Linked DNA regions of Homo sapiens: regions 1, 2, 4 and 5 are each linked to region 3. The links are contacts of gene promoters, found by promoter capture Hi-C in human tissues and cell types (Jung and others, 2019). All regions are on one chromosome and are shown on one strand. Each heading gives the region's core, a stretch centred on a gene start or on the middle of the fragment in contact. The rest is flanking DNA. Distances are from core to core; before and after follow the strand shown. Region 1 overlaps PRRX2 (paired related homeobox 2). Region 2 overlaps PRRX2 (paired related homeobox 2). Region 3 holds the start of IER5L (immediate early response 5 like). Region 4 holds the start of TOR1B (torsin family 1 member B). Region 5 holds the start of PTGES (prostaglandin E synthase).

Evidence for each region. Contacts are between HindIII fragments. The study calls those that stand out against the background at their distance.
Region 1: a contact is called between a fragment that was not itself captured here and the fragment with the promoter of IER5L in region 3, in 1 of the 25 tissues and cell types used here (dorsolateral prefrontal cortex).
Region 2: a contact is called between a fragment that was not itself captured here and the fragment with the promoter of IER5L in region 3, in 2 of the 25 tissues and cell types used here (H1 embryonic stem cells and lymphoblastoid cells).
Region 4: a contact is called between the fragment with the promoter of TOR1B here and the fragment with the promoter of IER5L in region 3, in 5 of the 25 tissues and cell types used here (aorta, dorsolateral prefrontal cortex, heart right ventricle and 2 more).
Region 5: a contact is called between the fragment with the promoter of PTGES here and the fragment with the promoter of IER5L in region 3, in 8 of the 25 tissues and cell types used here (IMR-90 fibroblasts, adrenal gland, aorta and 5 more).

Annotation. Positions count from the first base shown.
Region 1 is chr9:129,720,236-129,723,900 of GRCh38, reverse strand. It overlaps PRRX2 (paired related homeobox 2), which reads right to left. Exons shown (of 4, transcript NM_016307.4): 3 at 3,127-3,305; 4 at 1,227-1,684. The coding sequence ends at 1,549. Among named protein-coding and RNA genes, the nearest start is that of PRRX2-AS1, 3.4 kb to the right of the region's middle. The HindIII fragment of the contact is 3,172 bases long and covers 206-3,377 here.
Region 2 is chr9:129,696,409-129,699,923 of GRCh38, reverse strand. The region is part of intron 1 of PRRX2 (paired related homeobox 2); the gene reads right to left. Among named protein-coding and RNA genes, the nearest start is that of PRRX2-AS1, 21 kb to the left of the region's middle. The HindIII fragment of the contact is 5,585 bases long and covers 1-3,515 here.
Region 3 is chr9:129,175,802-129,179,733 of GRCh38, reverse strand. It overlaps IER5L (immediate early response 5 like), which reads left to right and starts at 1,473. Exons shown (of 1, transcript NM_203434.3): 1 at 1,473-3,932. The coding sequence starts at 1,682. The coding sequence ends at 2,896. RefSeq lists enhancers at 1-588, 589-1,512, 1,250-1,544, 3,919-3,932, 3,908-3,932 and silencers at 1,269-1,648, 1,879-2,218, 3,169-3,318, 3,659-3,708. The HindIII fragment of the contact is 19,795 bases long and covers 1-3,932 here.
Region 4 is chr9:129,801,332-129,804,726 of GRCh38, reverse strand. TOR1B (torsin family 1 member B) reads right to left here and starts at 1,543. Exons shown (of 5, transcript NM_014506.3): 1 at 1,316-1,543; 2 at 389-654. The coding sequence starts at 1,514. RefSeq lists silencers at 1,154-1,273, 1,334-1,463. The HindIII fragment of the contact is 20,911 bases long and covers 1-3,395 here.
Region 5 is chr9:129,751,451-129,754,927 of GRCh38, reverse strand. PTGES (prostaglandin E synthase) reads left to right here and starts at 1,886. Exons shown (of 3, transcript NM_004878.5): 1 at 1,886-2,041. The coding sequence starts at 1,916. The HindIII fragment of the contact is 20,404 bases long and covers 1-3,477 here.

The DNA.
Region 1 (3,665 bases), core at 542-3,041, 540 kb before region 3:
CAAAAAATTAGCTGGGCGTAGCAGCGGACGCCTGTAATCCCAGCTACTTGGGAGGCTGAGGCAGGAGAATTGCTTGAACCCCTGGAGGCGGAGGTTGCAGTGAGCTGAGATCGTGCTGCTGCACTCTAGCCTGTGCGACAGAGCAACACTCCGTCTCAAAAAAATAGAATAGATAGATAAAGAAAGAAAGAAAGAAAGAAAGAAAGAAAGAAAAAGAAAGTAGGTTGTCCCCGTGCAGACTACTCATGTGTGGAGCCCCATGGCTGGCACTTTAGGGGCATGGTGACCCTGCATGGGCAGGGCGGGATACTGGAGAACTGGCCCAGCTCATTGACTCCATCGAGATTCCTTGCTGTGCCATCTGCCACCCCGCCACCCCAAGGGCCAGGGTTCCCACCACCATTGCCCAGGGCTGACCGTCTTTGTGCCCTCTGGGATGGGGGAGTGTTGTCCTACCTCCCGGGGGCTGGACTGGGGTGACTTTGAGCAGAAAGGCTCTCCTGACTTCCCTGGTGGGCGTGGGGACAGGTAGAGGGACTGGCCTCAGACCATCCCTCACCCCTGTTTTCTGCAGATCCCTCGTAAGTGGTGTCACTGGCTGGTGGCACCCTCAGTTACTGGCTGCAAATGGGTGGGTTGAGGGACTTGAGTCTTCTGCTGGCCTCAGCTGTCCTGGGAGCCTGGCCGGGACCTACAGTCTGCACCTGTTTTCTGGGCCATTTCCTCAGCCCCTTCATGGTTAAATGGCCGGAGAGATCCCACGCCTTCTGTGTGCCCAGAAGCAAGGGACTGAATGTCCTTCCATCTGTCCCACACACCCTCTGGCCAGTCTAGGAATCCATGATCACCCATCCTGCCCCGCAATAGGATGGGGAGACGATCCCTGCCCAGGTTCACACAGCAAGGCTCTGCCCAAACATCTGGGTGTCCCCTTGGGACTCAAGATGGGAGATGGGGTCTAGGGTGGGTTTCTGTCCTCCTCTCCCACCCCCCCAGCCCCCATTTCTGGGGGCCCTGCAGGGTGACAGAGGACTTCATTCCCGGGAACAGTACAGATATGAGGGCAGTGGGCCTCCCATGGCTGCTGGTCTGAGCCAGGCCGAGGCGGTCTCCATGCCTGCTGCAGGCCAGAAAAGGGCCCAGGAAGGCCATCCAGCCCTGTGGGGTCCCAGCTCTCATCTCAGCCACCAACATTGTTTGCGGCCCTTACCCACCTTCCTGCAACCTTTTGGGGCTTAAAAAAATGGTTTTATTTCTTAAAGACAAAAGCTTTTTGGTTTTAATACACAAACTAAATGAGGTCCTTGGCAGGCTCTTCCACCTTCCGGCCCAACCCCTCCAAGGGTTGTGGGCTGCAGTCTCTGGTGGCCAAGGACAGAAGAGCTGGGCCCGGCTGCAGGGGCCTCAACAGCCTCGTGGGCTCGGGAGTCCAGGCTGGACAGACGGGCCAGGAGAGCTCATCCAGGAGAAGGTCACTTCCTGGGCGTCTGCCCCCTTTTCTATTGCTGTCCACCCAGGGAGGCGTCTGGGTCCTGGTGGGACTGGACTTCAGTTCACCGTAGGCACCTGGCTGTGGTGCAGGCTGAACTCCTTGGCCTTGAGACGGAGGCTGGCGATGCTGTTGGCCATGTTGACCCCTGGGGTTGCGGGGCCTGAGCTCCCAGGGCTGTAGGGTGGCACTGTGCTGGGGGCGACATGAGACACAGGTCACATGGGTGCGGTTGGCTTCTGGGTATCAGTGCTCGACCCCAGCCTCTGGTCCTGCCACCCCCCTCCTTAGCTTGCTCTCCTGGGCAGCCTTCACCCAGGACTGGGGGTGATTTGGAGCTGTAGGGTTTGGGCAGGAGTCAGAAGTCCCCCCAGCTCAGTGCTGGGACACAGGAGCCTCCATATGAGCCATGAGCTTCCTGACAGCAGGGCCTGGGTTGGTCCATGCCCCCCTCCATGCGTACCCTGGGCCTGGCTCTCAGCAGGATGGAGGCAGAATGAACAGGCACCTGGATTTAAGGATGCCCCTTGGGGCCAAGCGTGGTGGCTCACGCCTGTAATCCCAACACTTTGGGAGGCCGAAGTGGACGGATCACCTGAGATCAGGAGTTCGAGACCAGCCTGGCCAACATGTTGAAACCCTGTCTCTACTAAAAATACAAACAATTAGCTTGGCGTGGTGACGGGCGTTTGTAATCCCAGCTACCCAAGAGGCTGAGGCAGGAGAATTGCTTGAGCCTGGGAGGCGGAGGTTGCAGTGAGCCGAGATTGCACCACTGCACTCCAGCCTGGGTGACAGAGCGAGACTCTGTCTCAAAAATAAATACATAAATAAATAAGGATGCCCCTTGGTTTTCCTGCCCCCTGTAACGATGAATAGGGAGGGAAGTTAGGAGGGCGGTGAGGACTAAGAACCCTCAAGCGGACCCACGAAATCCCTGTCCCCCCACATGACCATGGCTCCAGCAGAGCCACCCTCACAGCCCAAGGAGCAGACGGCGCCTCTGGAGCTGTGGGGTATGGTGGCCCGACTCTCGAGCACCTCCTGCCGACCATGTCAGAGTCTTTCCAGCTTTGATCCAGACAAAACTGCCCCAGAACTTGGCTCTGGGCCCCAGCCATGCCCGCAGGCCAGGGAGACCATTTCCTCAGCCCTCCCAGCGTCAGTTTCTCGTCTGGAGGGTGGACACAGGGCGCTGGGGCCCCCGTGACAGCCTAGGAATCTTCCTGCAGGTTTTCTACTCCCTCAGGGTGATGCCTGTACTTTGCTCCCCCTCCAGATAGGCCTGTTTTCTCCCGGCTCCAGGTGTTCACGCACACACTCACACCCCTGTGGACACGCATGCTTGCACGCTCCTTTGCATACGCAGGCATGTGCATGCACACTCACAGTCATGTGTGCCCACATGTACGTTGACACACACACACATGCCAACTCTTACAACATGCACGTGCAGGTGCTCGTGAACACCCACTCACAGGCACACTCGCCACACATCACTTGGTGTACCCCAGATCCCAGGGGCGCGTGGACACCATTCAAGCTCTCTCCAGACCCTCAGAGGAGTCCAGGCCGGAAAAGCCCTCTGGGATTCCTCGAGCTGCCCCTTCCTGGCCCAAAGGTGTTCCCGCTCTCACCTGTAGGGGGACGAGGCTGTCCAGGAGAGATAATCTGGACTCAGGGCGGTGGGCCGGGGAGCCACGGGCTGCTCGATGGCGGCCTCCTGGCTGTAGGACTTGAGCAGCGAGGCAGAGCGGCTGGCCAGCATGGCCCTTTCATTCCTGCGGAACTTGGCGCGGCGGTTCTGAAACCAGACCTGTGGGTGGGAGGGTGAGCAGGGTGCAGCATGGGCAGGGGGGACCCAAGTCCTTCTGGACCTGGGTGTGTGCCTGCTCTGTCACCAGCCCAGGGCTGGCAGCGTCACCTCTCTGACCCTCAGTTTTTTCATCTGTAGAATGGGGATGACAAATGACGCCTGCTGCTGGGTATGTGTTGGAGATTGAGAACACCAATGAATGGAGAATGAATGGAGAATGTGTTGGAGAATGAGAACGAATGGAGAGGCACTCGGCCACTGGGAGCGAGGTGCTTGCTGAGCACTCGCGGGGAAAGGCGCTTGCTGAGCACTCGGGGGGAGAGGCGCTTGCTGAGCACTCGGGGGGAGAGGCTCTTGCTG
Region 2 (3,515 bases), core at 216-2,715, 520 kb before region 3:
AAGCAACCATGTGCCTGGCACGCTGAGGTCTCTCTCCTGAACAGCTGCTGTCGGTGCCTCAGAGACCAAGTTCTCTGCTCCCTGGGACACTTCCTCCCCAAAGCTTGCACTGACACACACAGAGCAGAGGCTGCCCTGAAGGTGCCCAAGGAAAGAATTCATCCTTCGTGGATGCTTCCCAGAAAGCTGGGCTGGACCATGTAGAAAGCCATGGCACAGTCACACACTGGATATTCTTTATTCCGGGCGGATGCATAGCAGGTCCTCAATAAATACTGAATGAATATGTAAGTGAATGAATGAATGGATTTTGGCTCCTGATGGGAACATAATCTCAATTCTCTGCTTGCCCAAACACCTGAAAATTTGTATGCACTATACACCATTACAAGCCTTCTCACTTCTGGACCCTCCTATCTGCAGAAACTAATATATTGATGGATATATGTATACACACACACACACACACACACACACACACACATATATATATTTTTTTTGAGACAGAGTCTTGCCCTGTTGCCCAGGCTGCAGTGCAATGGCGTGATCTCGGCTCACTGCAACTTCCACCTCCTGGGTTTAAGTGTTTCTCCCACCTCAGCCTCCCAAGCAACTGGGATTACAGGTGCGCACCACCACGCCCAGCTAATTTTGTGTGTATATATTTTAGACGAGGTTTCACCATGTTGGCCAGGCTGGTCTCGAACTCCTGACCTCAAGTGATCTGCCCACCTTGGCCTCCCAAAGTTCTGGGATTATGGGCGTGAGCCACTGCGCCCAGCCTATTGATGGATTTTTTTAATTGACAGGCCAGAGCATGGGCTAGGGAAATCACCTCCCACAGGGAAATGCTTCAGCCTGGCTTTGCTGGTGCTCATAGTCAGAGGAACAGGCACAGCGGCCTTCCTGTGGGGAAGGGCCTCCAGCATGCCCTGGGAGGGAAGGGACAGTCAGGCTATCCTGATGGCCCTCCAGCTGGGCCAGCATCCTCCCTCTACTTCCTAGAGTTTAGGAACGAACCACCTTGTTTCCTGAGCCTCCAGACACCAGGAAGATTTGATCCCAAGCCCAAGGTTTCATCTCTGGAGTCCAGCAGGCAGGGTGGGAATCCTACCTTCTCCACATCCCAGCTCTGTGACTTTGAGCCTGTGACCGCTCCTCTCTGGGCCTGTTTCCCTGTGAAGTGGGCCCATAGGGCCTCAGATGGGATGGTAGTGACGTGAGGTAGTGACGTGAGGGGGCGTCCACCCAGTACTGACAAATGGCCAAAGCCTTGGCTGCCCAGTCTGGGTTGTCTCAACCTCTGCCCACACGCGCCTAGCAGGGATTAGTCTCTGAGTTGATGTGCATGGCTGACACCCCCACCCTACCCAGCATCCCAGCTCCCCTTTTCCGGAACAAGGAAGGCAGGCGTGGCGGGAAAAACCCGCTCTTGCCACGTGTGTTTCACCAAACACCCTCCTCCCGATCATGGGGAAGGGCTGCACACCAGGGGGAACTCGGGGAACTGCTGAGTCCCAAGCCCTGGGCAAGCCCTCTTCTCTGCAGCCAGACTGGGTTGGCCTGGCCCAGCCCGGCCTGGCAGCACCACCGCCTGGTCTTACGCTTCCTTTTGGTGGAGAACCATGGAGACAGAGCCTAAGTGCCCCCGCCCCCCCCCCCCCCCGCCCCATCCAACCACCCATTTCTCCTAAGCTCCCCTGCTGGGAGCTCCCAGCTCCACTGCTCACTTTATAGGCCCTGCGAGGGGGCCCAGAGAGCTGAAGGGGCTGGTCCAGAAAGGCAGAGCACCCCGAAGCTGCCTGGGGACGGGAAGGCTCGGTGCTGACAGCAGCCAGGACCAGGGACCACCTTGTGGTTAAGACAGATTTGGTGCGGAGCTGGGACCGGCCTCAATGAAGCCCTTGTACTCACCCAGTGGGTGAAAAGCCCCCTTCCGAATCCCGGCGCTTAAAACCCTCCAACCTCCACGCTCCCCTCCCCCACCCACATTTTGGCGTTTCTCGCATGCCCCAAAGGCCTCATCTTAGGGGAAGCTCTGACTCAGAATTTTGAAAAATCTTACGCACAAACTTAGGAAAACAAACTTCGGGGGGCGGGGAAGCGTCCCCAGCCCTTTGTGGGGTGGAGACAGCGGGGGCGCTAGCAGGGGGGCAGGTTTCTGAGAAGCCATCTTTCCCTCCCCCGGGACAGGGCCGAGGGGCGAGGCGGACCCCACCCGTCTCGTGGGTGGCTTTCCCATCTGGACGGGGAGCTGGCTTGCTGGGCGGGGGTCTCCCCTCCGCACGCGCGGGTCTGGGGTCGGTCCGAAATCCAGGGGATGCCAGGGCCGGCGCGCCAGCCGCCGCCGCCCAGCCCGGCCATGTGCGCGCCAGCCAGTGCGTGCGAGCGCGCCGCGCTGGTGGCGGCCAGAGCGGCGCCGCGGCACATCTGGTTCCAGACGAGCCCCTGGCGCCTGCCTCGCCGCAGTCCCGCGGCCCAGACACACAGACGTTAATAGATCCCGCGCCCAGCCCCGCGCTGCCCGCGCCGCCGCCGCCCAGCTGCTCCGAGGGTGCGCGCCCCGGCCGGGCGGGAGGGGGCACGGCCTAGGGGAGGGGGAGCGGGACGCAGCGCTCCCCTGCAGCCCAGCCAGCTCCCTCCTCGCCTTCCTTCCAGCTCAGACACCTCCCTCTCCACTCCCGCTCTCCAGGCAGGTCCCGGGTGGGAGCCAGGACTGACTGCTCTTTCCTATCCTGGCACCGAGTGCAAGGGAATCCAACCCCCGATTAGTGACAAAGGCAGTTCCTACGTGTCCAGCTCCGGCCAAGGCCAAGGCTAAGGGCCAGGCCGGGCCGGGCGCCTATGGGCGTGTCTCCACACACGGTAACCCTATGAGGCAGGTACTGCTGCTACCGTCCCCGTTTAACAGTCGGGATAACCGAGACTAGGGAGGGAGGTCAGTCGCCCAAGGTCACACAGCGAGAAAGCTGCAGAGCGGCCATTCAGCTGGTCTATCGGACTCTGGCCCCAGGGGGGTCCGCGCTGCACCCCCTCTTCAACTGCTAGCCCACACACCTGGAACTCAAAGTCACCTTCACCCGGGGCGCCCCTCCCTTGCCCTCCCTCTGTCAGGGACCCCCTCTGCACCTGCAACCTTGATCCCTTAGCGAGGGTCCTCCCACCCAAGCATCTGGGGAAAGTGAAGCTTTGTGGGGACTCTGCAGGAATTTGCCCAGCTCCTTTCCCTTGGCAAGGCGGCAAGACAGCTGCTTATTTGGAATCCACCCCTTATCAAACCGGGAACCGAGGGTAGCTTTGCTTTATAAAATGTATTTTTTAAAAATTATTATTACTATTATTTTTTTCGAGACAGGGTCTAACTCTGTGGCGCAGGCTGGAGTGCAGCGGCGCGATCTGGGCTCCGCTGCAGCCTTGAACTCTCAGGCTTAAGCGATCCTCCCACCTGAGCCTCTAGAGTAGCTGAAATTACAGGCGCCCACTACCACGCCTGGCCAATTTTTGTATTTTTTGTA
Region 3 (3,932 bases), core at 224-2,723:
AGAAGGAAGCCCCAAAAAGCAGAGACTCAGAAGATCCCCTGAGGAGGCGGTGAAGCAGCAGGACGTCTGGTCATGGGCCTCCCCCCTGAGTCCAGCCCCACAAGGTCCACCTATCTCTGGGAGACTCTGCAGACCTCGTTCATCCTTCAGGGATCCACTCATGGACCCTCCTCAGGCAAACCTCCAGACCATTTCCAAGAGCCTCCAGAGCTGTCTGGGCAGCCCCCACCCCAGGCACCTTTGAAACCCCTGGGAGCAGCAACCAGCCCCCTTCAGGCCTCTTGGTCCAGATAGAGCGCCCCCAGGAATCAGCAATCCTGTCCCTCTCTTCTCCCACTGTCTCAGTCCCCAGCTGGGACCTGAAGGGTTCAGGATAAGAAGGAAAGCTGTGTCAACAGAAGTTAAGTCGGTGAGTCCCCGGGCCTTTGGTATTCACCTCCCGTCTCGAGCGCAGGGTCCTGTCCCAGCTCCTAGCTCCGCCCCCTGGGAACTGTGTGGTTCCCCAAGTCACTCCACTCCTCCGAGCCTCAGGCCCCTCCTCTACAAACGTTAGAGTGAGGCATTGGGGAGTTGCTGGGAAGGGCCTGCCCCATATTAGGCCCATAATAATAGTCCCTATTGTCATTATTATTAGTTAGGCACGAAAGGAAAGGTTACAGAGCTGGTGATTAGGGCACTCAGCGTTTCGGCTCCCAGGACGCTTTTGAGCCTCAGCTGGTCGCGAGGTCCACACACTCCCTGGGTCATGCCTGGCCTCGGAACTCTCTCCATCAGAGAAGGTCAAAATTCACGATGTTTTGGTTTTTCCTGTCAGACAAATGGGGAGGACTTCCCTTCCGCAAGCATTCCCAGAGGCCCCTCGACCAAAAAGTCAAGGAGTCAGGCCCTACATTCTCTGCGGTAGAGGGTACCCCCAAAACCTCGCTCCTTTGATGTTCCCCAGTGTCAAGCCGGCGGCTCCACCAGCCTCCTGTAGAGAGGCCTTGACTCCCGCGGGTCACTCGGGGGGGCGACAGGTGCGCAGGTGGAGGCGCCGCGCCGCTGGGGGAGCGATGAGCGGCGCGCACCTGCCGCAGGTGAGGCCCAGCCGTGCGGAAAGGGGAGGAGCCGTCGCCGCAGCACTCAGGTGAGCCGACCCCCGGCTCCCGGGACCTAAGGCGAGGGCAGCCGCGGGCTTCAACGTGGCCGCTGCCAGGCGACCTATGCTGCAGACTGCGGCCCCGGCGGCTCCGAGTCCCGCGCGGCGCGGCAGCCCCAGGAGAACATTCGAGGCAGCAGCGGCGTTGGAGGCCCGGGGTCCGTTCGGTATTTGAATAGCACAAAGGAACCGCCTTGGTCTGATTGGCCAGCCGAGTAGCCCCGGGGCGGGCTGCGCCTGTCACTCAGGAGACTCTCAGAGCTCCTATTGGCTCTTCTCATGTGGGGCGGGGCCCGGGCACCCGGCTAAATAGCTGGGGCCGGGGCCGGCCGAGACTCATTGCTTTGGCGCCGTCTGGGGAGCGCGAGCCCGCGGGTGGCGCGCGGCGCATGGTGGCGGCTCCTTTCGGAGCGCAGCCGAACCTCTGACCCGGACTCCGTTACCCCTGCCCGGCGCGCCCCGGCGGCCGGCTGGAGGCAGAAACAGCAGAAGCGTTAACAGCAGCAGCGGCGGCGGCTGCTCCGCCGCCGTCTCCGCGGGAGCATGGAGTGCGCCCTGGACGCCCAGAGCCTGATCAGCATCTCCCTGCGCAAGATCCACAGCTCCCGAACCCAGCGCGGCGGCATCAAGCTGCACAAGAACCTCCTGGTGTCCTACGTGCTCCGCAACGCGCGCCAGCTCTACCTGAGCGAGCGCTACGCCGAGCTCTACCGGCGCCAGCAGCAGCAGCAACAGCAGCAGCCGCCCCACCACCAGCACCAGCACCTAGCGTACGCGGCGCCGGGCATGCCGGCCAGCGCGGCCGACTTCGGCCCGCTCCAACTTGGCGGCGGCGGGGACGCGGAGGCGCGCGAGCCGGCCGCCCGGCACCAGCTGCACCAGCTCCACCAGCTCCACCAGCTGCACCTCCAGCAGCAGCTGCACCAGCACCAGCACCCGGCGCCCAGGGGCTGCGCGGCGGCGGCGGCGGCCGGAGCGCCCGCGGGCGGCGCGGGGGCGCTCTCGGAGCTGCCCGGGTGCGCCGCGCTCCAGCCGCCGCACGGCGCGCCCCACCGCGGGCAGCCCTTGGAGCCTCTGCAGCCGGGTCCTGCGCCGCTGCCGCTGCCGCTGCCGCCGCCCGCGCCCGCTGCGCTCTGCCCGCGGGACCCTCGCGCCCCGGCCGCCTGCTCCGCGCCCCCAGGGGCCGCCCCTCCGGCCGCCGCCGCTTCTCCGCCCGCCTCCCCGGCCCCCGCCTCCTCCCCCGGCTTCTACCGGGGCGCATACCCTACCCCTTCGGACTTCGGCTTGCACTGCAGCAGCCAGACCACCGTGCTGGACCTAGACACTCACGTGGTGACCACGGTGGAGAACGGCTACTTGCACCAGGACTGCTGCGCCTCCGCCCACTGCCCCTGCTGTGGCCAGGGCGCTCCGGGACCGGGCCTGGCGTCCGCCGCCGGCTGCAAGCGCAAGTATTACCCTGGCCAGGAGGAGGAGGAAGACGACGAGGAGGATGCGGGCGGGCTGGGGGCCGAGCCCCCCGGGGGCGCCCCGTTCGCCCCCTGCAAGCGCGCCCGCTTCGAGGACTTCTGCCCGGACTCGTCCCCGGACGCGTCCAACATCTCAAACTTGATCTCCATCTTTGGCTCCGGCTTCTCGGGGCTGGTGAGCCGACAGCCGGACTCCTCGGAGCAGCCGCCGCCGCTCAACGGGCAGCTGTGCGCCAAGCAGGCGCTCGCCAGCCTCGGCGCCTGGACTCGAGCCATTGTCGCCTTCTAGGGACCCCCGAGGGCACAGGGACCCGGGGCCCCGCGGGGCTGGGGCCAGACAAAGACTCGGCAAAGGGGCGAGAGGAGGGAACGAGCGGGCGCCGGGCCACTCGGGGCTGAGCTGGGGGCGAGCGGGGGCAGGCGGCTGATGTTTTATAAATTGTAAAATAAAAAAAAAAGAAATCTAAAATCTTGGACTTTATTTTTGCAGAGAGAAAAAGCGCCTATTTAAGTATGCTTTGTGTTTCTCCTACTCCTTTTTTTCTTTTTATTGTAGTGATTGCAGTGGTGTTTAGCGAGGAGCCTACCACGTGAGGGAGGGCTGCTGCCCGGAGGAGGTGCCGGGCAGCCGGGGGCGAGGCAGGGCGCCCTGGCCGCCGGGGCGCGCCGGGGGCGCAGCTCAGGAGGGCGCCGGACCTGGGAAGCCGATTCCAATCAGTTGTCAGACCCGGGAAGCCCGACGTTCCGCTCTCCCGAGTCCCTCTGTGGGGTGAGGAATGGGTCTTGTGAAATTCTGAGCAAAAACAAAGGCAAACTCTATCTCCGAAAGGGACGTTTGGGTCACATTTCCTCTCTGGGGGCGGACTCCAAAGTTCTCAAAATGAGAAGGCAGAAATGAAAACACTTCAACTTTTTTTTTCTTTTCTTCCCGGGGCGGGTGTCTTGAACCCCTCTTCTCCCCGCCCCTCTGGCTCCGTTCTCCTCCCCTCCTCCACCCGTCTCCCGGACTCGGGGGTGGCGCCTGACACCCCGACACTCTCGGACACTGGGTAAGGGGTGGGGGGCGGGCACGGCGGACTACATTTCCCATCATGCCTAGCACTGCGGTCCTCACTAAACAAAAAAGGAAGTCAATTCCTTCACCTGGATCCCCGGCGGCCCCGGGGGAGGGAGGGGCCGGGACCGCCGACTGCGTTGGAGACTTTGCACTAAGTTCCTGGTCAGCTGTGGTGTTTGTGTGTGTGCTTCTAAGTTGCACTGCCTTGGTTCAGCCTTCGGTTGCATTTCATGAAACCAGCATTGTTCGAGCCTGTGAGAACCCCGTC
Region 4 (3,395 bases), core at 294-2,793, 620 kb before region 3:
CCGTGCTCAGGTAATTTTGGTACTTTTAGGTAGAGATGGGGTTTCACCATGTTGGCCAGGCTGGTCTCAAACTCCTGGCCTCAAATGATCCGCCCGCCTCGGCTTCCCCAAAATGCTGGGATTACAGGCGTGAGCCACGGCGCCAGGCCCTTGGCTCCCCATCTTTTAATGGAAATAACATCCCCTACCCCACTGGACTGTTTTGGAACCAAGTAAGAGAAATGTTGTAGGAGAGCTTTGTAACTACCTGGACTAAGTGTGCCTTAACTCAGTGGAGCCGGGGGCTACAGCAACACAAAGGAAAGAGAAGCAGAGGCCAGAGTTAGTGAGCAGGTCACCCGGACCAGTCCGACTGGCCTGCAGACGAGATAATAGCGGGTTCTCTTGCCTGGTACAGTTTTATCTTCTGCTCATGAGGGAAGTGCAGAGTCGATACAAACAGGTGGACAAAGTTACTCTTCAGACCTTTTGGGTGAAGATTTTCAGCCACAATTTGACTGACAAAATTCTTGCCTGTGCCAGCCCAGCCGTGTAAGGAAAGGGTCAGTGGTTTCTTGGGATTTTTGTTGTTCCTGAAGCCAGTCAGCGCCTTGAAAATCACTTCCGTGGCTAGATGCTGTCCAAACAGCTTCTCCTCCAAATCCAGCTTGAGAGCTGCAAGAACAGCCCCAGAACAAAGAGAGAAACAGACCTTAAAAATGCATCAGCAACGCAGCACTTTCTTAGCTGGCCAAAGCAAGAAGCACAGATTATCCAGGGACACAGCAGGGTGTCTGCCACACCCTAGGGCCGAGGCAGTCAAACGATGCCACTTTCAAGATTATGTGGAGGTCCTTAACGCTTCGGGGTCTGATAAGGAAGCTAAATGTTCATTCATTCAGAGATGAACCATCGCTTGACTGAGCGCTTGCTAATCCCAGCCACCCTTGCTGACCTGCAGGAAAACCAGGGGCCAAATGTGGGCTTTCTGGGCGACGCAGCACGTCTGAAAACTACTTAATAGGGTTGGCAGGGCGCAGAAGGGCCGCCCGCCTACTTTCCGTTTCTTCCACCTGTGATCCCAAGGAACGGGAGCTTTAGAAAGGCGCTGGGGCAGCCCCACGATCTGGAGACTGTTTGCGAAGGCACCGCTTCTGCGTTCCCGCGAACGGTTCCGGGGCCGCCCCATCCGCTCCCCGCCCACCCCAGCTGGGACCACCGCCGTCTAGATGCCACGGGCCCGGTCCGTGCCAGGCGCCCACGAGGCCGTCCCTCCGCGCCCCCGCGCCCCCGCGCCCCCCGCAGCGCCGACCCACAGCTCGCGCGCGCGCCGTACCCGAAGCGTTGAGCGGCCGCTCCTCGCGGCAGCACTCGGCGAAGCGGCAGTAGATGTCATTGTAGGACAGGTAGCCGGTGATGGCCGACGCGGCCCCGATGGCTAGGCCCACGGTGATGGGCTCGAACGCCGCCACCACTCGGGCCGCCAGCAGCAGCGCCAGCGCCGCCGCGCCCCGGAGCCACCCAGCCCGCAACATCCCGCTCCTCGAAGCCCGCAGAAGCCACTGAGCCAGGCGCCCCGCGGCCAAGCGGCAGGACGGACTTCCTCTCGTGCGTCACTTCCGCCCCGCAGACCCGCCCACTCCCTTGGGGGCGGCCATGTTGGTGAGGGGCGGAGAGGAGGGCGGTGCCATCGTTCTTGGGAGTGGTCCGAAGGTGTAGGAGACTGTTTTGTTTCCCTTTTCTTTTAAAAAAATTTTTTCGGGCCGGGCGCGGTGGCTCACGCCTGTAATCCCAGGACTTTGGGAGGCCGAGCCGAGATCACGCCATTGCACTCCAGCCTGGGCAACAAGAGTGAAAAAATATCTAAAAAAAAAAAAAAAAATTTTTTTTTTTTGGCCGGGCGCCGTGGCTCACGCCTGTAATCCCAGCACTTTGGGAAGCTGAAGCGGGCGGATCACCTGATGTCAGGAGTTCGAGACCAGCCTGCTCAACGTGGCGAAACCCCGTCTCTACTAAAAATACAAAAAATTAGATGGGTGTGGTGGCGGGCGCCTGTAATCCCAGCTACTCGGGAGGTTGAGGCAGGAGAATCTCTTGAACCCAGGAGGCGGAGGTTGCAGTTAGCCGAGATCGTGCCACTGCACTCCAGCCTGGGCGACAAGAGCGAAACTGTCTCAAAAAAAAAAAAAAAGGCTGGCCGGGCGCGGCGGCTCACGCCTGTAATCCCAGCACTTTGGGAGGCCGAGGCAGGCGGATCACGAGGTCAGGAGATCAAGACCATCCTGGCTAACACAGTGAAATCCCATCACTACGAAAAATAGAAAAAATCAGCCGGGCATGGTGGCGGGCGCCTGTAGTCCCAGCTACTCGGGAGGCTGAGGCAGGAGAATGGCGTGAACCTGGGAGGCGGAGCTTGCAGTGAGCCGAGATCGTGCCACTGCACTCCAGCCTGGACGACAGAGCGAGACTCCGTCTCAAAAAAAACAAAAAAAAGCCAAAAAAAATTTTTTTAAACTTTCTTATATTTTTTTCTTATCTGATATGTATATTGGGGACAGGGTCTGGCTCTGTCGCCCCGGCTGGAGCGCAGTGGCAGGATCTCGGCTCGCTGCAAACTCTTCCTCCCAGGTTCAAGCGATTCTCCCATCTCAGCTGCTGGAGTAGCTGGGATTATAGGTGCCCGCCAACACGCCCAGCCAACTTTTGTGTTTTTAGTAGAGACGGGGTTTCGCCATGTGGCCCAAGCTGGTCTCGAACTCCTGACCTCAAGCGATCTACCTGCCTCCGTCTTCCAAAGCCTGGGGTTACAGGAGTGGGCTTATGGCTGGATTTGTTTTCTTCAGAGCTTCTCGGAGCCCTCAAGCTTTGCTTTGTTATCCCTCCCTTCACTTCGCCGGAGGTATAATGTGCGTTTCTTGGGTCGGCCCACCCGCCTGCCTTCTTCCTGAAACAGTTGCGAACTCTCCGTGCTGCGCCCTAGACTGAGCACTGGGGATGCAGCGGCCCCAAGACAGACCTGCCCAGGCTTCCACACTGAAATCCCGAGGTCCATTCTTTCATTCAGCACGCTAGGTGGCAGGCCCCTTGCTGGATGCCAGGAACGACAGCAGAGGAGGGGACGGAGTTGGCCCCTGCCCTCTCAGAGCTGACGGTCTATGGGGGAGGCCGACAAAGGGGTGAGACTCAATGCTGAGTGGGCAGAGAAGTATCGGACAGTGGTACAGGGAAGGCTTTTGTCTAAGCTGGGCACTGAGGGAGTTAGGCCAGGCAAAAAATGAGTAGAGTGTTTTAGGCAGAAAACAACAGTCAGTTTGGAGAACTGAAAGGATTCCACATGGCGGAAGGTGGTGAGAGATAGGGATGAAGAATCAGGCAGAGACTGGAAGGTGAAGTCCTTGCGAATGTTGTAAGGAGTT
Region 5 (3,477 bases), core at 637-3,136, 570 kb before region 3:
ACTCCAGCCTGGGTGATAGAGCAGGAGTCTGTCTCACAAGAAAAAAAAAAAAAGATCCCTGACCTTGTGGAGGTCCTGCCAGAACCCGGGGAAGCGGGCAGGATGCAGCAAGGTGAGGATTTTTTTTGAGACAGAGTCTCGGTCTGTCGCCCAGGCTGGAGTACAGTGGTGCAATCTTGGCTCACTGCACCTCCACCTCCCAGGTTGAAGCGATTCTCCCGCCTCAGCCTCCCAAGTAGCTGGGATTACAGGTGTCTGCCATCACATCTGGCTAATTTTTGTATTTTTAGTAGAGAGGGGATTTCACCACGTTGGCCAGGCTGGTCTCGAACTTCTGACCTCAGATAATCTGCCCCCCTCGGCCTCCCAAAGTGCTGGGATTACATGTGTGAGCCACCTGGCCAAGGTGAGGATTTTGAGGTGAGGGATTCAAAGAATCTTAGAAAACAAACGTTGATGCTTTCTTTCTTTTTTGAGACAGGGTCTTGCTCTGTCACCCAGGCTAGAGTGCAGTGGTGAGAACATGGCTCACTGCAGCCTCAGCCTCCTGGGTTCAGGTGATCCTCCCACTTCAGCCTCCTGAGTAGCTGGGAATACAGGCGAGCACCACCATGCCCAGCTAATTAAAACATTTTTTTGTAGAGACGGAGTCTCCCTATGTTGCCCAGGCTGGTCTTGAACTTCTGACTTCAGGTAATCTGTCCCCCTTGGCCTCCCAAGGGGCTGGAATTACAGGTGTGAGCCACCGCGCCCGGCCTGGTGATGCTTTCTACTGAAGAGTCAGTTGATAGGTCTTTCGGGGAGATCTTGTGATGAAGAATCAAAGCATTTGACTGGGGAAAGAGTTCCAGGATAGTCAAGTGATGCTCAGGAAGTCAGTGGAGCCACGTGCTGGTTCCCCATCCCTGCTATAGCAAATTACCACAGACTTAGTGGCTTAAAACAACACAGCTTCATTCTCTGACAGTTCTGGTGGATGAAGCCTGAAATGGGTCTCACAGGGCTAAAATCAAAGTGTCGGGAGGGCTGCGTTCTGTCTGAACGCAGAGAGTTTGTTTCGTCCCCTTTTCCAGTTTCTAGAGGCCCCTGGTATTCCTTGGGCCATGATCTCTCCTTCATCTTCAAGGCCAGCAGGTTAGCGTCTCTCCTGTCTGACCCCTATTCTGTCCTTTCATCTCCTCTCTTAATGCTGCCTCTGTTTTTATATCTTTTCTCTAATTTTACTGCCTCCCTCTTGGAAGGGCCCCTCTGTATACTCTGGGCTCACCCAGATAAACTAGGATAATTTCTCCCATCTCAAATCCTTACGAAATCCCATGTGAAAAGTCCCTTTTGCCACATAGTCACAGTCACGGGTTCTAGGGATTGGGACATGGATGTCTTTAGGGGTGGAGGGCGTCCTTCAGCCTGCCACAGATGGCAAAGTCATGCCATTGTGGCTGCAGCTCCATTGTCCAGGCTGAGTGTGGGGGCGCATGGCGTGGTTCTCATGCCCACCACCTACCCTGACCCTGCGGAGGTGGGCAGGAGGCAGCGATAATCACCACGTGCAGAGGTCCTGCCAGGTGCCCAGCCTCATCATTCCCTAGAAGGCAGGCACCACCACATGCTCCCACACTGTAGATAAGGAAACAGCTTTGAAACAGATTTGAAAGTGTTTGAGGATTTGCCTGGAAGGAGGGCTCCAGAGCCAGGGACTGGGTCCGGGACACCCGGAGACTCTCTGCTTCTTGGAGCTCCGGCAACTGCTTGTCTTTCTCTTCACAGGAGAAGGGGGCCCTGCTGCCGCTGCCGTGGGGCGGGGCGTGGGCGGTGCTGGCTGCAGGAAGGCTCTCCCCTCCCACTTTGTGCTTTCCCTGCAGGCTGCTCCTCTGTCGAGCTGATCACACCCACAGTTGAGCTGCGCTGGCCAGAGATGCCTGCCCACAGCCTGGTGATGAGCAGCCCGGCCCTCCCGGCCTTCCTGCTCTGCAGCACGCTGCTGGTCATCAAGATGTACGTGGTGGCCATCATCACGGGCCAAGTGAGGCTGCGGAAGAAGGTATGTGCCTCCCTGGGGGTCCCCGGCCTGGGTCATACTTGCTTCTCTCCACGTCCTGTCAGGAAAGCCCCGGGATAGGGAAACATGGCCAAGGTGTGTGCAGGGCTGGGAGGTGAGCACCTCTTCCAGCCCCGCCGGGGGGCTTCCTGCCAGTCCCACGTGTCAGCAAGGCCTGCACCTTCTCCTCTCTGGCTTAAGAGCACTTACTCGCTTGCCGTGCCACCGGGCTGAGTTCTTGGCATGGAGAGAGCCAGCGAGTGTCTGTGAGAGAAGCAGGTTCTGGAGGGTGGAGTGTGGGAGCGTGACAGCACAAAGCCTCTGTCTAACCTGGTGGCTTCCCGGCACGGGAGGTCTGATATCTGGGTGGAGTGGGAACCGGCAAAACAGGAGTCCGAGAAACGTTTAAGTGGAAATTCCCAACTCCTGGCAAATGTCACTAACAAGCCCACTGTAGCCTCCAAAGGCCAGCTCCCAGCCGGGCACCGTCGGGGTGCTCAGCGAGGAATTTCCCCACTAATCCGAGCCCCTGAACCAAAACAACATTAACGAGTCCCAGAGCTGGGCCGGGGCAAGTTCCAGTAGCGTCCGTCACACTGGTTGGCGAGTCTGCAAAGTCATAGGCTGAGCTTGTCGGCTGTCCTGGCGGCAGAATGCAGAAAGACCCCAGGCACCTGTTACTTCCTCCCCAGGTATTTTAATAAAGCAATCATTTCCTGAAACTGTCTCTGTCTTCCCCTGTGTCCAGTTCAAAGGCGAGGTGAGGCAAGGCTGGCTCTGGCACTGCATGCGGGTGGATCCTGGGGAGTGAGGATCTTGGCCACAAGCCAGGCTCAGGCCCTGCTGCAGGTACAGGCAGGATTAAAGGCAGGGCAGCTGCCCAAGTGATAGGATGCCCGGAGGCTACAGCACACTGATAGCTTCTGACTTCTCCCTGCCTTGGCTGGTCCTGGGATATGGGATCCGGGCATCAAGTAGAACAGCTGCATTCACTCATTGAATCCTTCCCAGAGGACCGAATGTGGCCCGGAGCTGAGCATGAGATCCCCGCCACAGCCCTGAGGGCAGGGGAGGCGCCATAGTCATCCTGTTTTCTAGGTGAGGAACCTGGGCTCAGAGAGGAGACATCACTTATGAAGGTCACACAGCCCGGTTTGAACTCCAGTGTCCAGCTTCAGAGCCCACATCCTGTCTTGGAGGCGGGGGTTTCTGTTTTGTTTTTTTTTTCTGCTGTCCAGGCTGGAGTGCAGCGGCATGATCTCTGCTTACTGCAACCTCCACCTCCTGGGTTCAAGCAATTCTACTGCCTCAGCCTCCCCGGTAGCTGGCATTACAGACACACACCACCATGCCCTGCTAATTTTTGTATTTTTAGTAGAGATGGGGTTTCACCATGTTGGCCAGGCTGGTCTTGAACCCCTGACCTCAGGTGATCCACC